4 separate regions of the Homo sapiens genome follow, and regions 2, 3 and 4 are each linked to region 1. Evidence: promoter capture Hi-C in 16 types of primary human blood cells and fetal thymus (Javierre and others, 2016). All regions are on one chromosome and are shown on one strand. The core of a region is centred on a gene start or on the middle of the fragment in contact, and the rest is flanking DNA. Distances in the headings are between cores, read along the strand shown. Region 1 holds the start of RASGRF2 (Ras protein specific guanine nucleotide releasing factor 2). Region 2 overlaps MSH3 (mutS homolog 3). Region 3 overlaps RASGRF2 (Ras protein specific guanine nucleotide releasing factor 2). Region 4 overlaps MSH3 (mutS homolog 3).

Region 1 (3,252 bases), core at 294-2,793:
TTAGTCTGCTTTAACTTTAATAACCAAACGGTGATTGGAAACATACAAACTTTGTGTTTGCAGGAATGAGGGGCTGGGATCACTAAGACTTAAAGGGTTTTTCTCCCCCACCCCGCGACCATGAGCACACAGCAAAACTAATAAAATTATGACCCAGAATTAAAAGGTCGCATTCATTTTCAAAGCATTCATTTAAAAGTACAGAAGCGTTCTTTAAAAATGCCCACATTTTTAAACATAGCAAGAATGTGGCTACCAAATATTAATCCTGAGGAATATGAATACACATTTACCTTCATAATTACACCCAGCAGGTCAAATGTTAGCAAGGCCAACTGACCGAAATCACAAAGACTGATTGAAAATGACCAACAGAAAGTGTCTGTCCGGCTTGGGAGCCCCGCTTGTTCCCAGCCCAACCAGTGGTCAAACATCTGCAGGCAAAGAAATCTACACGCGCCAGCCGGGTATGGCAGAAATCAAACTTTTCCAAATAAGTTAGTTCCGTCTTGCCAATCTACACCCAACAGGTGTCAATACATGTCACCAGACAAAAATCTGGCGAGCCAGGTCTAGAGAAGCAATAGATGGTTGGCAGAGAAGCTGAAACGACTCGACCTCTACCAGGGTAATGAAAGCAAGTCGGGCCACTATTCTGACTGATCACTTGGCAGTGGGGTGGAGGGGTATGGAGATGGGAGAATCCCTGGATGAAGATCGGAAGGAGCGTGGAGATGTCCCGCCACTGGTGACGCGGGGGGATTTCGGAGCATAGTCCCCGCACTCTTTCACGACCCCCGACCCCTGATCCCCGGATTAGGACGGCAAGGGAGTGCGGCGATCAAGGCTGGGAGACCGCGGAGAGAAGGCGCGCGGTACCTGCTTGTCCAGCGCGTCTCGGACGCCTCCCTGCCCGGCGCCGGCCCTGGGTGGCGCGGGCGTTCGTTCGCAGCTGCAGCCCTCCAGGAGGTACATGCCCGCCGGGCGGCAGCTCTGCTCGCCCTCGAAGTAGAAGAGCACATTCTGGTAGAGGGCGAACCACTTCTCGTGCCAGCGGCTCGCCTCGGCCGTCTTCTTACTCAGGAAGCCGCGCTTGGTGCCCTCCTTGCGCGCCAGAAAGGCCAGGTACAGGGCGTGCCCCTCGTTGTAGCGCACGCTCTTCTGCATGGTGCGGGTGCGGAGGGCTCACGGGTGGCCGCCGGTCTCACCCCTGCCTCGCGGCCATGGCCCAGCTGGCTCCCTCGAGGGCGCGACCGCTCAGGTCCCGGCCGGCGAAGGGCGCCCCCTTTCCCCACGCCGCGCGCAGGGCACCCCGCCCGCTTTCGGGAGGCCGCGGCGCGCGGTGGCAGGGGCGCGGGCTGGGGCCGAGGCACGCTCTCCGCCCTAACCACCACCCTCCCGGCCGAGCCCCCGGAGCCCCCCAAGCCCCCAACGCCCGCGTGGAGCGCGGCCCCGCGAGGGCGCCCGAGCCGGCCGCCGCTTCGCCCAAAGTTGCGGGAGCCGAGCCCCCGCGGCGGGCTGGGGCGGCAGCCGGGGAAGGACTGTCCTCGGGCAACGCGCTCCGGGAGACAGAAGGTAAAACGTCACGTGGGAGCTCAGCTGTAATCGGCTTGGAGACCGATTTAAAGGGCAAAGTCGGCGCGGCGCCGGCGGTGGCGCAGCCCGCTTGCCCCGGCTCGCGTCCCTCCCTCGCCCGCCCCGGCCCGGGCCGCTGCCTCTGCTCGGGCGCCCGCCGGGATGGGGCGGATCAGGGAGGTGGAGGCGCCCGGCCGCACCACACACCCGCTCACACGCGCTCGCACACTCGCGCACAACGCGCGCACACACACACGCACACCCACACACACGCAGACCAGTACATTCACCCAGATCCACAATGCACACACTCAGACGCACAAAAATACACTCACAAATGCACACAAACACAATGCGCGCACATATGCACAAAAACACACGCGCACACACTCATGACACACAAATACACATTCTCACAACGCTCACACTCAACACACAGTCACAACGCACAAATGCATATAGACAAATACACCCACAATGTGCGTTCCCGCGCACAAAAATAAAACCCACATTCAGATACACACTTAAGGAGCTACACACATGCACGCAGTGATATGCTCACTTACACACACATTCACACACAACCCACACATTCACTCAAACCCACATTCAAACATACATTCATACACACATTACACTCATACAGTCACACAAACAGCACACATATACTCACACGTTCACAATCATACAGACTCATAAGCAGATAATCAAACACACACACAGATGAACACACATGTACATTCACAAATTCATCCAAAAATACACACAAAGCACTCACACACGTATTCGCACGAATCCACACACTTTCACAAACCCACTCACACATACACACACACTCACATGCCACATCCATAAGTACGTTCCCATGGCAGTAGGTAGAGTCACAGAGTGGCTTTGCATAGCCCGCATCCTTGGCTTTTCTGCTTGTACCTGCATTGTAGTATTTAAAACTGCCGGTAAAGGTTAAGGAGAGTGGCCCAAGTGTTCCCGGAAAGGCATCAGATGCCGAAGTTCTTTCGGAATGCCTGTTATTTCACAGTGGTAAGATGCTAAATTTTAAGTGCCGAGTTTTCAACCTGGAAAAAAATACCCAAATAAGGGACACTTTGCTGCCCAGGGCAGAATCCAACCCCAAAGGCCAGCTGTCACAGGCTCATCGTTTGTAGGACTGGATTCATTTGATTAACAAATCTGACAGGTACAACCAGAAAACCAAGAGCCACCCCCCCGCCCCAACCCCATGCTGTAAAAATGTAAGTGGAAAAGAAATAATGTAGCCAGCAGCTGTGAGAGAAAGCCAGTGAAACCCCCGGGGAGGGCCTATATTTGATTCTGCTATACACATTTTTTATTTTCCCCAGTCATTTATCACTAAAACGGAGTGCCATCATAAAATGTTTATTGTTAAAAGTAAATAATAATGCTTTTCTGGGTGATGAGTCTACGACAATACACCTGTCTTGTACTGCCAGTTGTGTGTTCATGAATTGGTAGCCCCAGGGGTTCTGCCTGTTTCATAAGTGCTGTTTCTGCAGAATATTTTAACTCTGCCTCACTGAGCAGCTGAGTGGGGTTTTTTTTTCCTTTTACCTTTTTAAAAAATTTTCACTTTTAACAAGTATATAGTAGGGAAATTGCCATTTTGAAATTACAGCGTGAGAACAGTGGTCATTTCTC
Region 2 (3,252 bases), core at 527-3,026, 240 kb after region 1:
ACATATCCCTCACTAATCACATCCCTCTACGATTTCCAGAAGGAAACGCTGGCCGGGCACGGTGGCTTAATGCCTGTAATCCCAGCACTTTGGGAGGCCGAGGCAGGAGGACTGCCTGAGCTCAGGAGTTTAAGACCAGCCTGGGCAACATGGCTCTCTCTACAAAAAATACAAAAATTAGCCAGGCACGGTAGCACATGCCTGTAGTCCCAGCTACTTGGAAGGCTGAGGTGGGAGGATCACTTGAGCCCAGGGAGTCAAGGCTGCAATGAGCTGTGATCACACCACTGCACTCCAGCCTGAGCAAGAGTGAAACATCGTCTCAAATTAAAAAAAAAAATTAATAAAAGAAGCAAACATTATCTTGAATGTGATGTATATTACCATGCATGTTTTCATGTTTTATAAAAAACTGTATCATTTCATGCTTTTCATTTTGTATGAGTGGTACTTTATCATAACCATACAAATTGATTTTATCCTCAATGTTACACTATTTCTAAGATTTATACATGAAGATACATGTGCTTTTTACATTTTAACAGCAGCTAAGTATTTTATTATTTCTTATATTTTCTAATAAATTTAAGATCTGCTTTCTGAATTTATTCACCAGAATTTATCTTTGTGGATAGTGTGAAGTTATAAATACAATTTCATTTTCCATATAATTAATGATCAAAGCAGCAATTAGCATTCCATACGTCCCTGATGATTTATAATGTTACTTTCACTGCATATTGCATTTCTATATATGTTTTTGGATTCTCCATGCTGTTCCACTGGTCTTTTTGTCTATCTCTGTATCACGACCACAGTCTCTTAATTTCTAGGGCTTGGCATCTATATCTAAAGTGGCAAGGTCCCTACCTTGCTCTTCAAGATTGTCTTGGCTACTCCTGGCCCTTTGATTTTCTTTGTGAATTTTAGGTTCACTTACCTTCGGTCTTCACAAGAAACTTACTGGGATTACTTTATTTATTTATTTATTTATTTATTTATTTATTTATTTTTAGACAGAGTTTCACTCCGTCGCCTAGGCTGGACCAGGGCTCATTGCAGCATCATCGACCTCCCAGGCTGAAGCAATCCTCCTTCATCAGCCCCAAGTAGCTAGGACTACAGATAGGCATTACCACGCCCAGCTAATTTTTTTGTATTTTTAGTAGATACAGGGTTTCGCCATGTTGCCCAGGCTGGTGTCAAACTCCTGGACTCAAGCGATCTGCCCACCTCGGCCTCCCAAAGTGCTGGGATTATGGGCGTGAGCCATTGCGCCCAGCCCTTATTGGTATTTTAATTTGATATGTAATGAATTAATTTAGAGAGAAATAACATCTTAAATAGAGGTATCACATTATCAAAGCTGGTATATTCTTCTATTCATGTCTATTATATCCAACAGTAATGTTCTGTAATTTCCTCCATGAAGGTTTTATACAGCTTTGGTTGTGCTCACTCTTAGATACGTACACATACCTCTCTCTGGTCTTTATCTGAAACAGGAACAGGTGTTGGGTGGGGCCCGGCCCAGCATCAGGGGACTCTACTGCACATTAAAGTTAAAGAACCACTGACCTATACAAATAAAAGACTGCTGCTATAATGAAAATTAGTAGATGATAGGAAAGAGTATTCCCAAAGCAAAGAGTATTTCCTTTGGAAGCTTATCTTATGTATATTGATGTAGGTATATCTAATGATCTAAGAACATCAAAAGTTATCTGTAAAGTAAAGCTATACTATAAACAACTGAGTTAAGATACTTTAGAAAGTTTCTCAATATTTTTTTCTTTGGCTCCCTATGCAGAACACTTTCTTGGTCTCTACATAAAACTGAAAAAAGACTTGAAACCATCCCCAGCACCAAAATAAAGCAAGCTTTTTTCTATTTTTATGATTTTCCTTCCTGAGCAAGGAGATCGTATGAGTTGATTTAAAAGTTCAATTACAATGCCTTGTAATAAATAAACAATAGTGAAACTTTATTACCTATTTTGCTTTACAATTAGGTTAAAATTCAGAAAGAAGGATTTATGACAGAAAATCTATAGTTTATATATTTTTTTTCTTCACAAAAACAGTTAAACAAATTCTCATGGGCATATGCCACACAACAATCACTGTTTCTTAGTTTACAATCTAAGACAACAGACAGTAATGTGGTAGACATATGTAAAAGATACAGAAAACACAGAAACACAAATGGCTATACCTCGTCACAAAAGCAGAACACTCCCTCCCTCAATATTATGAAAAGTAGAAATAAATGTATCATTTTATCAATGTAACACACATTTGTAATTTTTTGCTATTTTCCTTGATATAATATTTTATTGAAATAATTGTTGTTTTTTGTTAGATTCAAGCATAGTTTTTCAGTCTCCCTAAATCCTGCCATAAAAAGAGACTTTAATAACCAAACTAAAACCCACAGATAACATGTACTACACTATAACTGCATCTCAAGATATTAAGAACCCCAAAATGCAAGCAGGTGGGATGAACAATAAGATACAAATGCTATCAGCAACCATGTGAGAAGAAGCAGACAAAAGCAACAGAACTCTAACAATCGGAAAACAGAAACAACACAAAACAGCAACGAGGTACTCACTGGAAAGCACAGTAGGACATTTTGAGGAGCTGAAATTGGGAGTGCAGTTTGTATATTTGATAATAGTGACTACAAGGAGTCCACAGTAAAGCCTGAAGGGGCTTGAGAACTCTAGGCCCTATGAATTCACAAAACCAGTGATGCAAAGCACTTTTTTAGGACAAATCTTACCCTGAGGAAAAACTCCTATGAACAGAATCTAAAATGGGGAGAAAAGGATAACAGGGTAATTGTTAAAAAGACAAAAGTACTACAGAACAGAGCCAGGAGAAAATGAGCTGTCACATTTTCAAATACTTTGACAATATGCAGCAAAATGAACCTCAAAAAATCATATTTTGTGAAAGAAATCAAGCCAAAAAATTTTAATATATATTGTAAGATATCCTGTATTTGAAATTCTGTAAAAGGTAAAATATACTGGTGGAAAATTAATAATTGCCTAGGGCCAGATGTGAAGGGAGGGGACCAACTGCAAAAGCACATGGAAAGTTTTAGGGTAAAAGTATTCTTCCACATCTCGACTGTGATAGTGGTTACAAAATTGTGTAAAACTACCACTTACACTTACAGTTGTGTAAACTGTACACTTAAAAATGAACTGTTTATAAATAATACTTGGAGTTAAAAAACAC
Region 3 (3,252 bases), core at 288-2,787, 210 kb before region 1:
ATGTGACCAAGTTAAGATGTCAAAGTGGATTATGGTGCGTCCTAATCATTATAAGAGGGAAATTTGGACACAGACACACCTAGAGGGAAGAAGACCATGTGATGAAAGAGGCAGATATTGGGAGTCATGATGCCACCAGCTGGGGAACCCCAAGGATTGCCAGCAAACACCAGAAGCTAGGAGGAGGCAAGGCAGGATTCTCCCCCAGAGCCTCCAGAAAGTATGGCCCTGATGACACCTTGGTTTTGGACTTCTGGCCTCCAGAACAGTGAGAAAATAAATCGTTGTTTTTTTAGCCACCCAGATTGAGGTACTTTGTTATGGAAGCCCTACAAAAACGAATTTAAGGTCTGAGGGAAAGAGGAATCAGGAATGGCTCCACTGTTCAGGACCTGTTCAGCTGGGTAGATGATGATACCACTTCCTGAGATGGGGCAAGGGCAGGTTTGAGGGAGGAAATCAAGAGTTTGATTTTAGACATAGTTAAGTGTGAGATGCCTCTAGACATCTAATGATCACACTGGAAATGCAAATTGAGAGTATCAGCATTTAAACAGTACTTAAAAATCAGAAGTCTGGATGGGCTCACATAGGTACAGAGTGTACCAGACAAAGCCCGTGGCCCCACAACCAGGAGATATTGGTCAAAGAGCCAGCAAAGCAGACCAAAAGAAGGAGGAGAGCAAGTCCTGGAAACCCAGGCACATTAGTCTCATGGAACCCAAGAGGACAGGAAATATTTCAACAAGGAAGAAGTGATCGCTGTGTCAAATGCCACTGAGAGGTTGAGTAAGACAAGGGGATTGGATTTGACTCTGGCAAGCTATCGGTTGTCAGTGACCTGGGTCAGTCATTCCAAGAGTGACGGAGTAAAAGTCCAAATTGAGGGGAAAAAGAAGGTGATGAAGTGGAGACATTAAGTATGGCCAATATTTTCAACACATTGTGCTTTGAAAAGAAGCAGAGGAAGGGAGCCATAGCTGGTAAAATGGGTGATATTAAGACACCGGTGCTGGGGGCAGTGGCTCACACTTGTAATCTGAGCACTTTGGGAGGCTGAGGTGGGTGGATCACCTGAGGTCAGGAGTTCGAGACCAGCCTGACCAATATGGTGAAACCCCAACTCTACTAAAAGTACAAAAATTAGCTGAGCGTGGCGGTGTGCGCCTGTAGCCCCAGCTACTTGGGAGGTTGAGACAGAAGAATTGCTTGAATTCAGGAGGCGGAGGTTGTGGTGAGCCAAGGTTACGCCACTGCACTCTAACTTGGGCGACAGAGCCAGACTCTGTCTTAAAAAAAAAAAAAAAAAAAGAGAAGAAAAAAAAAGACGCTGGCATGCTATAGGAATGATTGATAAAGGGGGAAATTGATGTCAATAGAGAAAAGGGTAACTGCAGGAGAACAGTTCTTAAGGAGGTGAAAAGGGATGGGATGGGGCAAAGCGGAGGGGCTGACCCAAGGGCAGTGTGGGGATGATTACTCCACAGCCTCGGGGAGAGGGCAGAGGCTGAGACCAAGTGTAGTGTGCTGGCGAAATCAGTGGAGGGAAGAGGTCATCCTTGACCATTTGTATCTGCTTTTGCTGTGAAATATGAGACAAGATCATCAGCCAAGCCTGCAAGGGGATGTGGAGATCTGAGAAGAGGGGAAGGCGGTAAAGGGTAAAAGGCAGTGTAGGAACATGACTTTACTAGGATTGTCTGGCAGTGCAGAATATCCATTTAAGATCTGAAGTCTTCCTGTGAGTCCCAGCAGCACCACCCTAAGAGTCTCTCCAGAGAATGGCTCTGCTGTGTCTGAGTGCCGAGTCGGCCTGACCCCGTCATTGTTCAGTCATGCTCTTCGTTGCTCCTACTCCCCACCTTTGATCTTTCCATCAGAACTTGCCAGGGGAGGCATCTGCTTTTCCTCATGTGCCCTGGAGGCAGCCACAGAGAGGAGAGGCCGAGGGGTCAGAGTGACGGCATCCCTGCCTGCAGCTGCTCATGGGGGCTTCCATTTTCAATTCTGTGCCCTGCGTTGGAACTTACAGAAAGCCCAGCGAGGAGAACACCACTATCACTGAGTGCACACTGATGTGTGCAGTGAAACCCCTGCAGTTAAGAATTTCAGACGGATTCTAACCAACTTGCTGTAGAATTCTATTCAAGTGGATTAGTTTAACAACTGACTGATTGATGATTGCAAATTTTAACAATCTCTCGGTTTTGCAGTTTCTCTTGTTTGTGTCCCTACTGGTGATGCTTTTCTGCCCTGCCCCCTCATCCGAGGCTGCTATGGGGCAGAAACAATAGCTACGTCTTGGTTGGCCTCCAGTCCTCAGGACTGATACAAAACAGGCCTTGGATAAATTGGTTGCTGTGTGTATGTATTACAGTGAGTTCTTCTAACTGTGTTAAGTAGGAATTTCTGCTGGGAAGACCAGACTTGGACAGGCCAGGTCCTTTATGCTGACAGCCTTGTATCCGTCACTCTACCCATGGAGGGCAATGTAACATAACTCACAATGGTGCTAACAGCTCAGTGTGGTGATGCTTTAACTCCATACTGCCAGGATCATCCCGTCTCTTCACTCGGGGAAGACCCTGCCACCTATGACTTAAAGACTGAAGTCATTTCATGAGGGGGATCAGGAGACACCCTAATTTCCCTTCTTTCAAAAGCTCTCTGCAGTTTCGTCCTCATTCTTTTCCTTTACCCCTGGGGAAAGCTAAAGATGAGCTGGGAAGAACATCTCAGAAGGGACTGGGAATTTTTAAATCGGCTTAGCTCAATGAACGGCCTTAGAAAAATCCCCTCATCTCGGGTTCTCAGTGTCCTTTTTGGTCACAAAAGGAGCTTATCTGGATGCCTCTAAGGTCCCTTCCTTAGTGTCTCCTTGGATGAAGCTCAGGTTGCCCACCATGCATCTGATACCATCCTTTCGCTGACCTCAATTACCAGCCCTTCGTCCCTCCCCCATCCTTCCCCTTCAGTATCCATAAATCCCTCCCGTCTGTGCACAGAGGCCTTTCCTCAACACCGCCACTCCCTCACATGTGACAATAGAGGCTGTGTCTTTCTTGCTTATCTTAGGTATCCTTGGAGTATCTGTAAGCAGACAAGGGCTTTTGTCAGGAGAAGTAAAGTTCACGGCCAGGTGCTGTGGCTCACACCTGTAATCCCAGCAGTTTGGGAGGCTGATGTGGGTGGATCTCCTGAGGTCTGGAGTTCGAGACCAGCCTGACCAACATGGTGAAACCCTGTCTCTAC
Region 4 (3,252 bases), core at 307-2,806, 200 kb after region 1:
ATACAAAAATTAGCCAGGCATAGTGGCGGGTGCCTGTAACCCCAGCTACTCAGGAGGCTGAGACAGAAGAATCGATTAAACCTGGGAGGTAGAGGTTGCAGTGAGCCGAGATCACGCCATTGCACTCCAGCCTGGGTGACGAGAGTAAAAGTCTGTCTCAAAAATAAAATAAAATAAAATAACATAAAATAACATAACATAACATAACATAACATAACATAACATAACATAAAATAAAATAAAAAATTAAAATAAAATAAAATAAAACAAAATAAAACAAAATAAAATAAAAATTTAGGCACATAAAAATGGTTACACAGTAAAATTATTAAATTGGCAAGGAGTTACATTTGGAGGAAAAATAAAATTTGCTTATGAAAAGTGGCAACCAGAAAAAAAAAATGGCAGTCAAGATAACTACATCAAACATGATAGCATCCAAAAGACACAGCCAATGAAAACACAGTCAAGAATCCTGGGTCTAAATACAGATTCTGTTACTAGCAAGTTACTAAACCTCTGAGCATCATCATATTAGCCAAGGTAATTCAAGTGGTTGCAGCATTTTATATATATACATATATATATACACACACATATATAGCATTAGATATAATTTCTTATTAGTAAGAAGGTAATAAAAATAGTAACTTCTCAATGTCATAAAGTTTTGATAAGGAACAAAGAGTATAAGGTATGTGAATGACTTCTGCAAAAAGTAAAACACCATAGTTTATAGTGTTTTATCATTTAAAAATATTAATAATTTTTTTAATTTTAGGCATATTTTGAAGATAACCTAAATTATTTCCCTAACCGTGGAAAATGACTCATTTTTGCTATGACTCAAACTGTAAAGCTTAAGTGATAAAAATCAAAATAATCCTTTACTCACCTTCAATATCCAAGCTTGTTTGCATACTAACTACCACCACAGATGTTATACTAGCAGATTTTTCCATAGTTTAAGAAACAATAAGTTGTTCTAAGATCAAAAGAAATAAGGTTTTTTTTTTCTAAAATAACAAGTCTACATAAATTTCCTATTTTGATAATAGTCTGTACTTTCAGGATGAAACAGGAGAATACCCTATATTATAACAGAAGGGCCTCTATGTTGCTGTAGTTAAGGCACATGAGAAAACTTTATTTTCTACAATGGAAAAATTGGAATAACTCTAATTTGTACTATTAAAATTTCTGAGGATTCAGCTACTCTCGCATGCTATTTGTAAGATTTTACAAAATAAAATAATAATAGAGCTCTCAAAAGTTTTCTTTTAATATATAGTGTCCTCAAGCTGAAGAACACTGTCAGCTTTAATAGATTTCTATCACACTTACTTTTTTGTGATAAATGCTACAGAGTCCCCTCTCTATGTCGGGCAATTTACGTAGATGATTTTCTATCTGACCAAACACACTAGATTCTGAATGGAGAACTTCCGATACAGCATCAAGCCGGGCATTTATTTCCCTGTGAGAAAAGAGTAATAGCAATAATCAGATATGTTAGGAATTCAGAATATAGACATTTCCCACTCTAATGCCCAGGAATGTGACACAGCCACTTATTAGGCACAAAGGAAACTCCTCCTTCATACTGAGATAGTCATGTGGGAAGGACTCCCTGACAAAACTCCAATGGGCGTATGCATTGAGAGGAGGGTGCACTGGGGTGGAGACACAGAAGTTCACGCCTTTGGCAGCAGGGAGGAGCCTGGCCCCTCCTCCTCCTGGGTGGAACCTGGGATTACAGTCTGTGAGGCGGGAAGCATACTAGCAAGATTCTCGTTCTGTCTTGTTGGAGAGTCTTTGTTTCCCTTTTTATTGCTCTTTGCCCAATAAATTCCATTTTTCTCCTCCTTCGAATTGTCTGCGGGCCTAATTTTACATGGCTGTGTGATGAGGACCACCCTCCCCCAACCTCGCTGTCTTTAACTGAACTAAGGAAAAAGTCCTACAACAATATATCTGGTCCTTCCATGCCTCTTATTATTATCTGAATCAAAGAGCAGGTATCATACAAGGAAATTCACTAGCTGGGTTTGACAAAGACAGGCTCACCAAGCAAACACAAAGACTACATTTCCCAGTCTCCCCTGTAGTTAGGTATGGCCATGTACCTCAGTTCTGAAGCATGGGTGGGAATGATGTAAGCCACCTCTAGCCCTGGCCCATAAAAACTTCCTGAATAAGCTTTCACATTCTCCTAATCCCCTTTGCCAGCTAGGCAAGCTTGTGAGCCTCATGGTAACTCCATCAGCCTGAGCCCACAGTGGAGCAGAAAATCCACCATTCCCGGATCTGTTACCAATTGAACTTATATTAGCAAGAAATAAACTTCTAATGTATTTAAGCCACTTAGACGGAGAATTTGTTTGCTGATAGCTTGCATTACCTTGGCTAATATAATAGTTAAACAATGACCAACAAGACGACCTAGTGGTGGTGGTGATGGCTGAACTGACCAACTGTTTGAATGAATTAAATTAAACATATTGACCCTGACCAAAGATTGGGGAGTAGCAATAGAAAGTGCAGAGGATATGACATTCAGATACATAGGAGATCAGTGCTGCGGGATTTTACCAACGGCTACACCTTAAGTGATGACTCAACTTAAAACGGAAATCTGATGGACTAAATGTATCATCAATGAGATGTGGTCCATGAAGTACCTATAAACATCAAAGGCCCACACTAGGTATAATGACCATCTGTAGTATTAAAAACTAAGATAAGTAAACATGTCTGGTGAGTAGTAAGTCCTCAGTAAGGATTTAAAGTGTTTGTAAATGAATGAATGAATAAATAAACAAGTGGATGAAAGAATGAACTGATGTTTTGGGGGAAAGGAGGCATCAGCCACTGAATAAACTTGGTGTCTCTCAAAATTCTGTTGACATCATACACACTGATATGAAAAGCAAATCTTAGATCAGGATCCTGGCTAGATTACAATCAGACTGAGGACTTTCGATTTAGTGAGTGCTTTTGTCTTTATTATCCTTAACTACCTGTGAGATCATGCCTTTTCATAATACAGAGCTTCTATACTAACTTCAGGCCTCATTTTTGTTCCATTTTTCTCTGGCTCATACTCTTGCATGCAGAAGGACCATTTGTTAGTACGATGCAGGAGAGCAAGACAGAGCTTTGTACACACACGGGCTGGCTCTTCCATTCTCAGCAGGGTGGACTCTGTAATCCATCCACCACTCTCCACCTCTACAGCCACTACTATAGTCT

What was found. Contacts are between HindIII fragments. The CHiCAGO score rates a contact against its expected background, and 5 or more counts as called.
Region 2: a fragment that was not itself captured here is called in contact with the fragment with the promoter of RASGRF2 in region 1 in 1 of 17 cell types (M2 macrophages); the score reaches 5.1 in M2 macrophages.
Region 3: a contact is called between a fragment that was not itself captured here and the fragment with the promoter of RASGRF2 in region 1, in 1 of 17 cell types (endothelial precursors). The highest score is 8.8, in endothelial precursors.
Region 4: a contact is called between a fragment that was not itself captured here and the fragment with the promoter of RASGRF2 in region 1, in 4 of 17 cell types (total CD8 T cells, naive CD4 T cells, naive CD8 T cells and 1 more). The highest score is 6.6, in total CD8 T cells.

Annotation. Positions count from the first base shown.
Region 1 is chr5:80,958,654-80,961,905 of GRCh38, reverse strand. RASGRF2 (Ras protein specific guanine nucleotide releasing factor 2) reads right to left here and starts at 1,543. Exons shown (of 27, transcript NM_006909.3): 1 at 880-1,543. The coding sequence starts at 1,167. RASGRF2-AS1 (RASGRF2 antisense RNA 1) reads left to right here and starts at 999. Exons shown (of 4, transcript NR_105015.1): 1 at 999-1,125. RefSeq lists an enhancer at 719-1,440. The HindIII fragment of the contact is 16,452 bases long and covers 1-3,252 here.
Region 2 is chr5:80,720,855-80,724,106 of GRCh38, reverse strand. The region is part of intron 8 of MSH3 (mutS homolog 3); the gene reads right to left. Among named protein-coding and RNA genes, the nearest start is that of DHFR, 67 kb to the right of the region's middle. The HindIII fragment of the contact is 215 bases long and covers 1,669-1,883 here.
Region 3 is chr5:81,166,369-81,169,620 of GRCh38, reverse strand. The region is part of intron 17 of RASGRF2 (Ras protein specific guanine nucleotide releasing factor 2); the gene reads right to left. Among named protein-coding and RNA genes, the nearest start is that of CKMT2, 65 kb to the left of the region's middle. The HindIII fragment of the contact is 4,695 bases long and covers 1-3,252 here.
Region 4 is chr5:80,759,771-80,763,022 of GRCh38, reverse strand. MSH3 (mutS homolog 3) reads right to left here. Exons shown (of 24, transcript NM_002439.5): 13 at 1,345-1,477. Among named protein-coding and RNA genes, the nearest start is that of DHFR, 110 kb to the right of the region's middle. The HindIII fragment of the contact is 1,290 bases long and covers 912-2,201 here.